Linked DNA regions of Homo sapiens: region 2 is linked to region 1. The links are contacts of gene promoters, found by promoter capture Hi-C in human tissues and cell types (Jung and others, 2019). All regions are on one chromosome and are shown on one strand. The core of a region is centred on a gene start or on the middle of the fragment in contact, and the rest is flanking DNA. Distances in the headings are between cores, read along the strand shown. Region 1 holds the start of ZFP1 (ZFP1 zinc finger protein). Region 2 overlaps GLG1 (golgi glycoprotein 1).

The links. The method cuts DNA at HindIII sites, captures the fragments that hold promoters and counts their contacts. A contact is called where the count stands out against the background at its distance.
Region 2: a contact is called between a fragment that was not itself captured here and the fragment with the promoter of ZFP1 in region 1, in 1 of the 25 tissues and cell types used here (dorsolateral prefrontal cortex).

Annotation. Positions count from the first base shown.
Region 1 is chr16:75,143,561-75,149,815 of GRCh38, forward strand. ZFP1 (ZFP1 zinc finger protein) reads left to right here and starts at 4,964. Exons shown (of 4, transcript NM_153688.4): 1 at 4,964-5,083. RefSeq lists an enhancer at 4,775-4,824 and a silencer at 5,185-5,554. The HindIII fragment of the contact is 27,656 bases long and covers 1-6,255 here.
Region 2 is chr16:74,554,718-74,561,486 of GRCh38, forward strand. All of the region lies in intron 1 of GLG1 (golgi glycoprotein 1), which reads right to left. Among named protein-coding and RNA genes, the nearest start is that of GLG1, 49 kb to the right of the region's middle. RefSeq lists a silencer at 2,841-3,041. The HindIII fragment of the contact is 4,018 bases long and covers 2,627-6,644 here.

The sequences.
Region 1 (6,255 bases), core at 3,714-6,213:
GTGTGATAATATTGTTATTACATTTAAAGTATGATCTACAGACCCTGGGGTCTCCAAGCCCTTTTCTGGGGATCCAGGAGGTGAATCTTTTTTTTTTTTTTTTTTTTTTGAGACATAGTCTCACTCTATTGCCCAGGCTCGAATGCAGTGGCATGATCACAGCTCACTGCAGCGTCAACCTCCTGGGCTCAAGTGAACCTCCCACCTCAGCTTCCAGAGTAGCTGGAACTACAGGTGCATGCCACTGCGCCCACCTAATTTTTGTTTATTTTTTTGGTAGAGATGGTTTTGCCATGTTCCCCAGGCTTGTCTCAAACTCCTGGGCTCAAGGGATCTGCCTGCCTTGGCCTCCCAAAGTGCTGGGATTACAGGCATGAGCCACTGCACCGGCCACCAGTGGTGATATTAATGTAGTTGTTTGATACTGTATAATAAAAGGTGTCAACATTTAGAACCTCTGCATGAGCTGGCCAGGTCAGCAATGTGTTTCTCAGAAACACCCGCTACACTTTCTCTTTATTTTTCAGGGAAAATTAATAGAGGACAATGTGGTTGTGAATTTTAGAAGGTCTTGAAAAGTACAGCCCACACACGTGGTGCTTACTCAGTGCTGTTACACATAAGGCGGTAAGGGGAATTTATCTTGTGTGTATGTGTGTGTGGGGGGAGTTCTCCATTCTCTTCGTATAGTTCAGTGTTTAGTCTTTTTAAAATATGCATAGTTTTTTACAAAAATAGGATTACGCTGCACATATTCTTGTGTGATCAGTATTATTTCATTTCTCAATGAAATAACCCCCACGTGGGTAATACACATTATCCTTTTTAGTGTTTCCCCAAATTCTCCTTACATATCACCACAATTTATTTTACGTTTACCTACTAAAAGATTTTTAGATCCTTCCCAAGGTTTTGCAAATATAAATGGCAATGTGAGGAACATTCTTGTATATACATCTTTCCATAAGATTATAGGTTATGGTAATTTATAATTTTTAAATGTTGGTATAATAAGATCTTCAGAAAAATTTGATGTGTACACTCACATCACAATGTTGTATATCCATCACCACTTTCTCCTTCCAGAACTTTCTCATTATCCCAAACAGAAACGCTATACCGTTTAAGCACTAACTCCCCATCCCTTTTTATTCCAGTCCCTGGTAACTCTGTTTTACTTTCTGTCTTTATAAATTTGCCTATCCTAGGTACGTCATATAAATGGAATCATACAGTATTTGTCCTTTTGTGTCTGCCTTCTTTCTTTTTTTCTTTTCTTTTCTTTTAAGAAACAGAGTCTCATTCTACTACCCAGGCTGGAGTGCAGTCGTGCAATCATAGGTCACTGCAGCCTCGAACTCCTGGGTCAAGTGATCTTCCTGCCTCGGCCTCCTGAGTAGCTGGGGCCACAGGCACATGCCACTACCTCCAGCTTGGCTTATTTCACTTAGTGTATTTTCAAGTTTTAATCACGTTGTAGCGTGTACCAGAACGTCATTCTTTGATATGGCTGAATAATATTCCACTGTATCCATTCATCAGCTAATGGACACTTGGATTGTCTCCACCTTTGGATATTGTGAATAATGCTGCTATGAACATTGGTGTAAACACCTTTCTATGAACCTGTTTGAGGATATTGTTTTAATTAAAAGCAAGCTGCTACCACTACATACCTATTAGAATGGCCAAAATTCAAGACACTGACAACAAATGCTGGTGAGAAATTGGAGCAACAGGAATTCTTATTCATTGTTGGTGGGTGCAAAATGATGCAGCCACTTTGGAAGACAGTGTTGGCAGTCTCTTACAAAACTAATGATATGGACAGGAGGCAGGAGGGCGGGATTCCTGGTGAGGGTTCTTACCCTCAAGCTTGGACCCATGGCCCTAAATGAGAACAGGCATTCCTGTTTTCACGCCTGTACGTTGCCTTTTCCAAGACCATTGTGGCCCACCCTGCTCTCTATCCTGTGCCCATAAGAACCCCAAATCCCAGGCTCCACAAACAGAAGAGCAGCAGAGGGGCAGAGGGGCAGAGCTGCAGAGCAAGGTGGTGGAGAAGGAGAAAAGAGAAGAAGCAATTGAGCATTGAAGAGGTAGCTGGATGGTCAGAGAGGAATTTGGCCAGGGACAGCAGAACTCCAGGGGACGATTATCTTCCCACGCCATCCCCTTTCCAGCTCCCCATCCTGCTGAGAGCCACCTCCCTCACTCAATAAAACCTCTGCATTTACCATTCTTCAAGTCCATGTGACCTGATCCTTTCTGGATGCTGGACAAGGACCTGGGTATTAAGAGGGCAGGGTGTAAAAGGCTGTCACCCTCACTCTCCACTGAGCTGGTTAACGCTTAGCTGTCCATGGATGGCAACTGCTAGAAGAGCATTAATTGTAACACACCCCTAGATGCTACCATGGGGCCAGAGCCCAAAGGTGCTCACCCTGGCCCTGGCACCCACTTGCCTCTGTGCTCCCCCTCCCATAAGGGGTTTTAGCACAGTGGCTGAGTAAGCTAGCCACGACAAGTCCCGCGAAGGGGTCCAGGGAACTCTCCTGTCTCATTAACATACTGTTACCACACAATCCAGCAACCATGCTAATTTTTTTTTTTTTTTTTGGAGACGGGGTCTCGCTCTGTCGCCCAGGCTGGAGTTCATTGGTGCAATCTCGGCTCACTGCAAGCTCCGCCTCCCAGGTTCACGCCATTCTCCTGGCTCAGCCTCCCAAGTAGCCGAGGCTACAGGTGCCCGCCACCACGCCCGGCTAATTTTTATTTTTGTATTTTTATTAGAGACAGGGTTTCGCTGTGTTAGCCAGGATGGTCTCGATCTCCTGACCTCGTGATCCGCCCGCCTCGGCCTCCCAAAGTGCTGGGATTACAGGCGTGAGCCACTGCACCCGGCCGCAACCATACGATTTACCCAAATGAACTGGAAACTTATATCCTCACAAAACCTGAACACAGATGTTTAGAGCAGCTTTATTCATAGTTGCCAAAACTTAGAAGCAACCAATGTATCTTCAGTAGGTGAATGGATTTAAAACACTGGTACATGCAGACAGTAGAATATTATGCAGCACTAAAACGAACTGAGGCTGGGCACAGTGGCTCATCCCTATAATCCCCGCACTTTGGGAGGCCAAGGCAGGAGGATTTCTTGATCCCAGGAGTTTGAGACGAGCCTGGGCAACATGGCAAAATGCCATCTCTACAAAAAATACAAAAAATTACCCAGGCATGGCTGTGTATGCCTGTAGTTTTAGCTACTTGGGAGGCTGAACTGGGAGGGTCACTTGAGCCCAGGAAGTGGAGGCTGCAGTGAGCCATGATCGCACCACTGCACTCCAACCTGGGTGACAGAGTGAGACCCTGTGTCAAAAAAAAAAAAAAAAAAAAAAAGCCAGGGTAACTTGAGGGAAACATGAGGGAAACTTAAATGTATATTACTAAATGAAAGAAGCCAATCTGAAAAAGCAACATATGTATGATTCCACCTATATGACAACCTGCAAAAGGCAAAACTATGGAGACAGTAAAAATATCAGAGATTTCCAGGGGTTGTGGGATGGATGAATAAATGGAGCACAGATGATTTTTTGGGGGGCAGTGAAACTATTCTGTACGATACTGTAATGGTTACAGGCATTTGTCAAGACCCATAGAATGTACAACATCAAGTGAACACTAATGTAAGCTATGGACTTTGGGTGCCAATGATTTTGTTTTTTAATTTATACTTTTTGAGACAGGGTCACCCAAGCTGGAGTGCAGTGGCACAATCTTGGCTCACTGAAACCTCAGCCTCCCAGGCTCAAGTGATCCTCCCACCTCAGCCTCCCGAGTAGCTGGGACTACAGGTGCGTGCCACCATGCCCGGCTAATTTTTGTATTTTTTTTTTTTTTTTAAGAGATGAGGTTTCACCATTTTGGCCAGGCTGGTTTCAAATTCCTCGGCTCAAGCAATCTGCTTGCCTCAGGCTCCCAAAGTGCTAGGATTACAGGTGTGAGCCACTGAGCCTGGCCAGGTGCTGATATTTAACTGTAGGTTCACCAATTGTAACAAATACACTGTTCTGGTGTGGGATATCAACTTTGGGGAGGTTGTGTGTGCTGGGGGGACATGGGTTATATGGGAATTCAATGTATTTTCTGCTCAAATTTTGCTGTGAACCTAAAACTGTTCTAAAGGATGAAAGGAACTGAGGGTGAAGGGAAATGGGAAGATGGTGGTCAAGGGGTACAAAGTCTCAGTTATGCAAGATGAGTAGTTCTGGGGAGATGCACAGCTATGTGACGATAGTTGACAATATTGTGTACTTGAAATTTGCTAAGAAGATAGATCTTAAGTGTTCTCATCAGACAAATAACTATGTGAGGTGATGCACATGTTAATTAGCTTGATTATGGTGAATATTTCACAAATGTAGATATCAAGTTGTACATCTTAAATATATAGATCTCAACAAATATATATACCTCAACAAAGTGGCCTGGGAAAAAAGGGAAAAAAGCTAGTTGCAGCACATGATACCTTTATGGCCAGTTTTGTAACAACAACAAAAAAATCAAAGTGCGAACTTAATGTTATACGCAGTTAATCTTTAGAAAGTGAGATTATGGATACTTTATTTTGTACATATATTCTAATTAAATACAGTTATAGATTATTTGTGTAATGTTTAAAAGCCAAGTTGTTGTATTTAAGGGGGAGGTGGTGAATTGTAGTTCACGACCCACTCTGGGAAAAAAGAAAACAGTGCAGGCTAAGGAGATTATTTTGGTCGGCTCATCAGACCGCCTAACAAGGCGAAGACTTTCCTGAGAGTCCCTAAAGCCGCGGCCCCGGAGGCTTGTGGGAAATGTAGTCCCGAACGTGGATGGTCCACCCCTCCGAGGACCCTGGGAACGGCCCGCGCCCCTGTTTCTGCGCATGTGCAGTGCTGCGAGCGCGCCGGTGGCCGCCCTTCCCCCACCACCAGCGGCGAGTGGGTGACAGAGCCCCCGTCTCCGCGCGTCTTCGCCGCCCTGCGCCGTGACCCGCTGTGGCACTGGGCCACGAGTGGAGGCTGCGCCCCTCCAGGTACGAGAGGGGCTTCCAGGTAGCTCCGCGCGGCCTGGGGCCGAGGGGAAGGAGATGAGGGATGGGCTCGTGCCCGCGCAGGGTGGGAGCCCAAACTTCGGCTACTCGTAGGCGGCAGTGACCCTCAGGGCGGCGTCCGGGGTTGCCCGGCGCTCGCCTCTGAACGGGGCCGGCGGGGCACGCCTGGCCGAACGTGCGGGGGCGGGGACGGCGGAGGGAAGGGCGGCTATGAGGCTTCGCCTTCTTCTCTTTGTCAGGAGATGCGCCTCAGACGGGCGGCGAAGGGCTCGGGCCGCGCGGGAGCGAGTTCTGGAGCCCCGGCGGGCGCGCGCGCGCGGGACGAGGCCCCGCCGGGGCGTGGTGGGGGCGTGGCCTGACACACCTGGCCACGCCCCGATGCCCGGTGCCTCGTGGGTGGAGGAAGGACTGGAGCCTGGTCAGTTGCCGGTGGTGAAGGAGAACCGTGATCCCTTTGTCAGAGGGTCTTCAGTGAGGTGTTCCCCTGATCCTCGCATCCACCCCGTGACTTCCAGCGTTATCATCTCCGTCGCTATCCCAGGAACACGGGAGGTTCAGAAGGGGAAAGTGATTTCCCTAAGGTCTCACAACCCGGTGGTACTTTATGTGAGCAGCAGATATTTTTTCATTTATCTTTTGATTTTACTCGCTGGTAGATTTTGCCATGTATACGTTTTGACGTTTTAAATTTCTCTCGGGTGGAATTTACTGTTCTTTCCGTTTGGGGCACCCAAAATTCTTCACTACTTTGAAATACGAAAGTTTTCCCATGATTCTGGTGCAGTCACGCTCTGCGTAACAGTGTTTCTGTCAACGAGGGACCTCATGTAAAATGGTGGTCCTATGTGATTGTAATACTATATTTTTGTATTGTACCGTTTCTTTTCTTTACTTTCTTTTTTTTTTTTTTTTTTTTGAGACGGAGTCTCGCTCTGTCGTCCAGGCTGGAGTGCAGTGGCTTGATCTCGGCTCACTGCAACCTCCGCCTCCTGGGTTAAAGTAGTGCTCTGCCTCAGCCTCCCGAGTAGCTGGGATTACAGGCGTGAGCCACCGCGTCCGGCCAGACACAATTTATTGATGTAACTGTTCCTCTAAATACTACTTTAACTACATCACTCAAATTTTTATATCTTGTATTTTCTTTTCTGTTGTTG
Region 2 (6,769 bases), core at 3,386-5,885, 590 kb before region 1:
TGGTGGATATATCTAATTAATATTCATTTCCTCAACTTGCAAAGCAAATGACATCATTGTTTGTCACTTTAACTAGTTCTCTGTTCAACAGTGGACCTACTGACAGATGCCCAAATAAAGATCACACACTAACATAAAAAGATGTAACTGCAGCCAAACATGGTGGCATGCACGTATAGTCCCAGTGCTTTAGGAGACTGAGGTGTGAGGATTGCCAGAACCCAGGAGTTTGAGGCTGCAATGAGCTATAATCTCACCACTGCCCTCCAACCTGAGCGACTGAGCAAAACCCTGTGTCTAAAATAAATAAATAATAAAAACATATAATTGCCTTCAGTTTATAAGACTTTGTGATAAAACGGGAAAAAAGAAAAAACAGTTGTAACTGTGCTTGGAGATACCCACCAGATGGGCCATTCTCACAAACTGATCAAATGATCACTATGGTGGTGTTAAAAATAAGTTTACAAATTGTAACTTTTCCTTCACTGAAAACTGATCAAGAAAGCCAACTCCCCAAATTATAATCTTGTCTTATCTAGTGGTCTGTCCTAGATTGACAGAACATAAAATTGGGCAATTATTCATGTTGTGAAAGGATCCACTACACAAAAAACAAAATTTAAAAATTAACGCAAGTTTCCTTGACATTGTCAACTCCATCAGTACATTTAAAATGGGATTCCAGGCTGGGTGCGGTGGCTCACACCTATAATCCCAGCATTTTGGGAGGCTGAGGCAAGACAACTGCTTGAGCCCAGGAGTTCAAGACCAGCCTGGGCAACACAGAGAGACCTCATCTCTACAAAAAAATATTAAAAGATTGGCCAGGTGTGGTGGTGTGTGCCTGTAGTCCTAGCTGCTTGGGAGGCTGGGGCAGGAGGATCACTTAAGCCAGGAATTCAAGGCTACAGTGAGCTGTGACTCCTCCATTGTGCTCCAGCCTGGGCAACAGAGAGAGATCCCTGTCTCTAAAGAAAAGAAGAAAAAGGAAAGAAAGAAAAGAAACATGCTGGGTTTCAGGAACAATTAGCCTAAGATTTAAAAGATTTCTGTGGAAAAATCAAGTCACTAAGTCACACAAAGACAATTATAGCTGGTGATAATTCATCTTTTTTTTTTTCTTTTTCTTTTGAGACAGGGTCTTGGTCTCGCTGTATCACCCAGGGTGAAGTGTAGTGGCACGATCATGGCTCGCTGCAGCCTCACTCTTCTGGGCTCAAGCAATCCTCCCGCCTCAGCTTCCTGAATCCCTGGGACTACAGGCACATGCCATCACATGAGGCCAATTTTTAATTTTTTTGTAGAGAAGGGTCTCACTATGTTGCCTGAGCTAGTCTCCAGCTCCTGGGCTCAAGCAATGCTCCCACCTTAGCCTCTCAAAGTGCTGGGATTATAGGCATGAGCCACTGGTAAGAATAAATCGCCTACTTTATATTACAGTTAACAGTTAATTACAAATTCCTAAATCACAAAATGTCCCTCTTACTCTTACTATAACAAAGTGAAATAGTCCTACAGGAAAGATCCATTACAATAAGATATACAGTTAGGTGCTGGAAACAAGCAACAGTAAGTAGCTATTGATTATCTTACCATTTTACAATAAATCATGACTTTAAATACTTTACTAGAAAATTTAAAGTTCTTTGACTAGGAAAAATGGACCTCTTTCCATAAAATTTTTGGTTTTGTTTGGGGCTAACCCAAACAATTTATTTAAACCAACTTTAGTATGAAATATACAGATTATACACAAAATAATCTAATACACTCTGGGGCAACCTGGTGAGACAATGCCTCTACAAATAAAATAGTCAGCTGGGCGTGGTGGTTCATGCCTGTGGTCTCAGCTACTGGGGAGGCAGAGGTGTGAGGAATGCTTAAGCCTAGCCATCAGAGGCTGCAGTGAGCTAGGATTATACCACTGCATTCCAACCTGGGTGGCAGGTTGGAATAATATTATTATTTTTTTATTATTTTATATATACATAATTTTGAGACAAGGTCTTGCTCTGTCTCAAATATATATATTATAATAAATATTATTACTAATAAAAATATATAAAATAATATTATTATTACAACCTAATAGTCTTTAGCCAATGAGTAAGAGAATAGCTGAAACTGTGTAACAGTCTGTTTACAGACTATTTCCATATGTAGGCTGATAAGAACAACTCTAATAATATAGCTTTTAAATAATACAGCAATTATTTAAATGCATTCTCATAAATAAAATATATTCTAATTTTCACTGCTCAGGAACAGTGAAGTACTTTATAATTTGGCAGGAGGAAGATTTACTCCCCATACATTAAAGATAAGCAGTAGAAAGAATCTTTATATTTTTGCATCTGACCAGTTTCAACAGCACCCCTAATTGGTGTGGGGTTAGCAAAAAGTTTGTGGTTATTACAATCATTGTATAAAGAGCTAAGTAAACTAGAAGAAACCCAGGACCTTTGATAAAACAGCTTTGTAAATCCTTACCTCAAATATTACAAATGTTTCTATAACTATATATGATTTGTTTGACTTTTGTAGATCTTTATTTCCTGCTTATCCATTACTATGTAATAGTAAGTGTGCTGAAGTAAAGCTGTGAGACTCAATTAAAGGAAAATTTTAATCATAGAGGTCTTTAGATAGCAAAATAGGCAAGAAGCTCTCTTTAGGTCTGGGGAGAGGCAAGAAGCTCTCTTTAGGTCTGGGGAGGGGCCAGAGCATAGGCTTACTTATGGGTGACCACTTAGCCCAAGAGTGTGAGCAGGTGGAAGTGAGAATGCTTTGCAGATACTAGTAGGCCAAAACTCTAGGCATAGTTAATTCAGATACTAGTCCAGACGCAGAAGATTTCAGGAAAACAGACCAAAAGCCTGAGTCAGGAGCTCTTGAGACTGAGCAGGTAACAGGAAGCAAAGGAGGCTAAAGAACATGGTCAGAAGACCATATCCCAGAAGCATCTGAAAGAAGTCTGGTGCAGCTATCTGGAAGCAGCCAGCTGGTTCCTTGGTAGAAAGTGTCCTGTGTGTCTTTTTTTTTTTTGGTAGGGTTGGGGTTTCACCATGCTTTCTAGGCTGGTCTTCAACTCCTGGGTTCAAGTAATCCATCTGCCTCAGCTCCCAAAGTGCTGGGATTACAGGCGTGAGCCACCAGGCCTGGCCATAGAAAGTGTCCTGTCTTGAAGATTGTGCTGAGGGGATAATGAGTCCTTTTTTATGGAAGACATACCACTCATTTGTAAAGAACATATGCTGAACAAAATAGAAAAATTTTAAATGCTAGACACACACATAAGGAAAGCAGTAAAACCCTGAAACTGTAGGTAGTTAAAAATTTAAAATATTTGCATTTTTATTCACAGATGGTCTTCAACTTTCACAGTCTGATTTTCATATATTATATACTTATGTACCTAAGAGGCTTTTCAATGTGGATTTTATATTTTGTGTTCACCAGCTGACAAACTTTTGAGCTACTGAGTGAAGGTGGTACTGGCTCACCAACATTTCACTTTTGGCAGTATCACCACATTGATGCATCTCTGTGAAATTATTAGAGTATTTTATTGGATTTGGGGGAAAATGCAAGTGTTAGTATCAGCAAAAAGAAGCATCTCAATGTAACAGATTGCTTTCAGGTGTTAAGCCAGCCTTCCATGTGCTCAATTATGAATAATGGATAATAAAATGAAAGTGTGTGCACAAATGTTTGAACTGTATTACTGAAGATTATACCAAAAAGGTTAAGTATAATTTAGGATTTTATAATATTTGTTAACTCGCTGAGCACCTGCTTTACAACATTTGAGTCTGACTTTAACCTGCATGGCTTTCGCCCATGTTTCCATGGATACACACACATTTGTAAATTTCAGGACTTGAGAACCTTAAGACATTTTTAGAAAATGTGAAGAAATCTCCAATTTTATTTTTAGCTTTAAAATTTTTTTGTAACTTATTTCTTACCCCCAAAGGATGCGGAAAGTTTCCTATATTAACTATTTTGACCCTACGAGTTTCATGGTGGATTAGAATAGTCAGAAGAAAAGAGAAGGGCAGATAAATGTTTCAATCTGTCTTCAAACATTTAATTATGGCTTACAATAAAATAAAATTTAACCTAATTCTATTACCTATTTTGTCACAGACTGTACATCTTCTTTTTACTTTTTATATTTTCTTAGAGACGGGGTCTCACTCCGTCACCCAGGCTGGAATGCAGTCACACAGACATAGCTTACTGCATCCCAGAACTGGGCTCAAGCAATTCTCCCACCTCAGCCTCCTGAGCAGCTGGGACTATAGGTGTATCCCACTATGTGTGACTCATTTTTTAGATTTTTTTGCTATGTTGCCCAGGCTGGTCATGAACTCCAGGCTTCACGCAGTCTTCCTGCCACAGCCTCCTAAAGTACAGGGATTACAGGCCTGAACCACTGGGCCTGGCCTTTTATTTTTTAAACGAGGTATCTGAGTACATTTCCTTATTTCCTGCTTCATATGACTTTTACTATCAGAAGTAATCCTTTTTACCCATCTTTAGGCTTCCTGCTGTTTAAAAAAAAAAAAACTTAGCTGGGCATGGTGGTGTGCAACTGTAATCCAAGCTACTCAGGAGGCTGAGGGCAGGAGGATCGTTTGAGCCCAGGAGTTTGAGGCTGCAGCAAGCTATGATCACACCACTGCACTCCAGCCTGGGTGACAGAGGGAGATCCTGTCTCTAGAAAAGGTGAGGGTAAGGCTGGGGGAGGAGGGGCGATGGGGGGGCAGGGGACAACACAAATACAGTCAAATAAAAATATAACTCTTCCTTAATCCTCTGTCCTCTTTAGGCCAGGCTCTCTCCTCCTCAAACCTCTCTCATCTTAATTTTAGAGAGTGAAATATGCAGATAGTCTTGGATCTCTTCTTCCCTTCTAATTCTAGACATTCTTAGAACTTAATTCTTTGCCTGCTTTTTCTTCATTACTCATTCCCACCGAGATTACGTCTTCGTATCATGTCTCTATTGATGAAGACTTCATTTTTCATCTTCAGCCTTCTGACATATGTATTTTCAGTTTCTTAATGTATTCACTTTGAATGTCCACTGTCACCTAAAATGTAACATGCCTAAAACATAATTTTATTTTGAATTTATTATTTTAAAAAATAAACCACTGGAGAATTTTAGACTTAATGGAAAAGTTGAGAAGACAGCACACAGAGTTCCCATATGCCTTCTCATTTTCCCCTATTGTTAATAGCTTACTTTATATAGTGCAATCTGTCACAACTAAAGAACCAACAATGGTACACATTTTATTCAGATTGTACTAGGTATTTTATGAGGATGATGGTTAATTTTTTGTGTCAACTTCACTGGGCCACACGCGTTTCGCCAAACATTGTTCTGGGTGGGTCTACGGTGCTGTTTTTGGATGAGATTAGCACTTGGACAGGCAGACTAGCAAAGCAGACTGTCCTTCCCAATGTGGGTGGGTCCCATTCCATCAGTTGAAGGTCTGAATAGAACAAAAAGGCTGAAGCTCCCCCAGGACTCCAGAATCAAAGAAAGGGGGGATTTCCTCCTAACTGCTTTGAATTGGGACCTCAGTTTTTGTCTTTTTTTTTTTTTTTTTTTGAGACGGAGTCTCACTCTGTCGCCCAGGCTGGAGTGCAATGGCACGATCTCAGCTCACTGCAACCTCCGTCTTCCAGGTTCAAGCGATTCTGCCACCTCAGCCTCCCCCCGCCGCCCCCCTGCCCCCGCAGTAACTAGTAACTTGACTGCCATCAAGCCTAGCTAATTTTTGTATTTTTGTAGAGATGGGTTTCAGCATGTTGGCCAGGATGGCCTTGAACTGACCTCAGGTGATCTGCCTGCCTCAGCCTACCAAAGTGCTGGGATTACAGGCATGAGCCACTGCGCCTAGCCCTAAAAACTCTTTATAAAAGGCAAAGCTTAAGCAACTAATTGTAAGAAAAATTAAACCTGAGCTGGGCATGGTGGCTTAGGCCTGTAACCCCAGCTACTTGGAGGCTGAGGCAGGAGGATCTCTGGAAGCCAGGAGTTTGATTGAGACCAGACTGGGCAACACAGCAATCCCATCTCGAAAGAAAAAAAGAAGGGAGGAAGGGAGGGAAAGAAGGAAGGAAAGAGAGAAGCAATTCTGTATATAGAATATGTAAAGAAAGTAAGATATGTTTTTGTAAGGAAAGCTATAAAGGCATAAAAATATGTGTTTGCTGAGAAAAAAAGTTATTTAAAGGTTATTTCAAATTGAATGAATTTTTAGAAGAGATATAGTCTGGCACCACGCAGTCCTGCGCAGTCCTGCACAGTCCTGCTTGGTTGCATGGCAGCACCTGGGGGTGCCCAGCTGGAGGGATGGGGCAGGATCGGGGCCAACAGGCAGCAAGCCAGGATCCTGCAGCAGCCAGCACCTTCCTCCTGCTGGTGTCAGAGCTGGGCATGGGGGGCAGCATGCCTGTGAGTAGCCTCAGAAGGCTGAGGTCCCTGCCCCCAATATTGGCACCTAGGCCTGCACCCTCACACCCTTCATGACCACAACCAAATTTTCTTGTCAATTATGTCTTTAACCATGATCATTTTGTTTCCACAGTTAATTGCTTTATACGGATGCATTTTCTTTAAGCTCTTTACAACCAAGTAAAATCCTAGAGCATTATGTCTTCAAGAACGTTCATGGAAAGTAATGGAAAGGACCCTAATAAGCACTACTGAATACAAGTTTCTGATAACTTTAGGCTCATCTAATTTG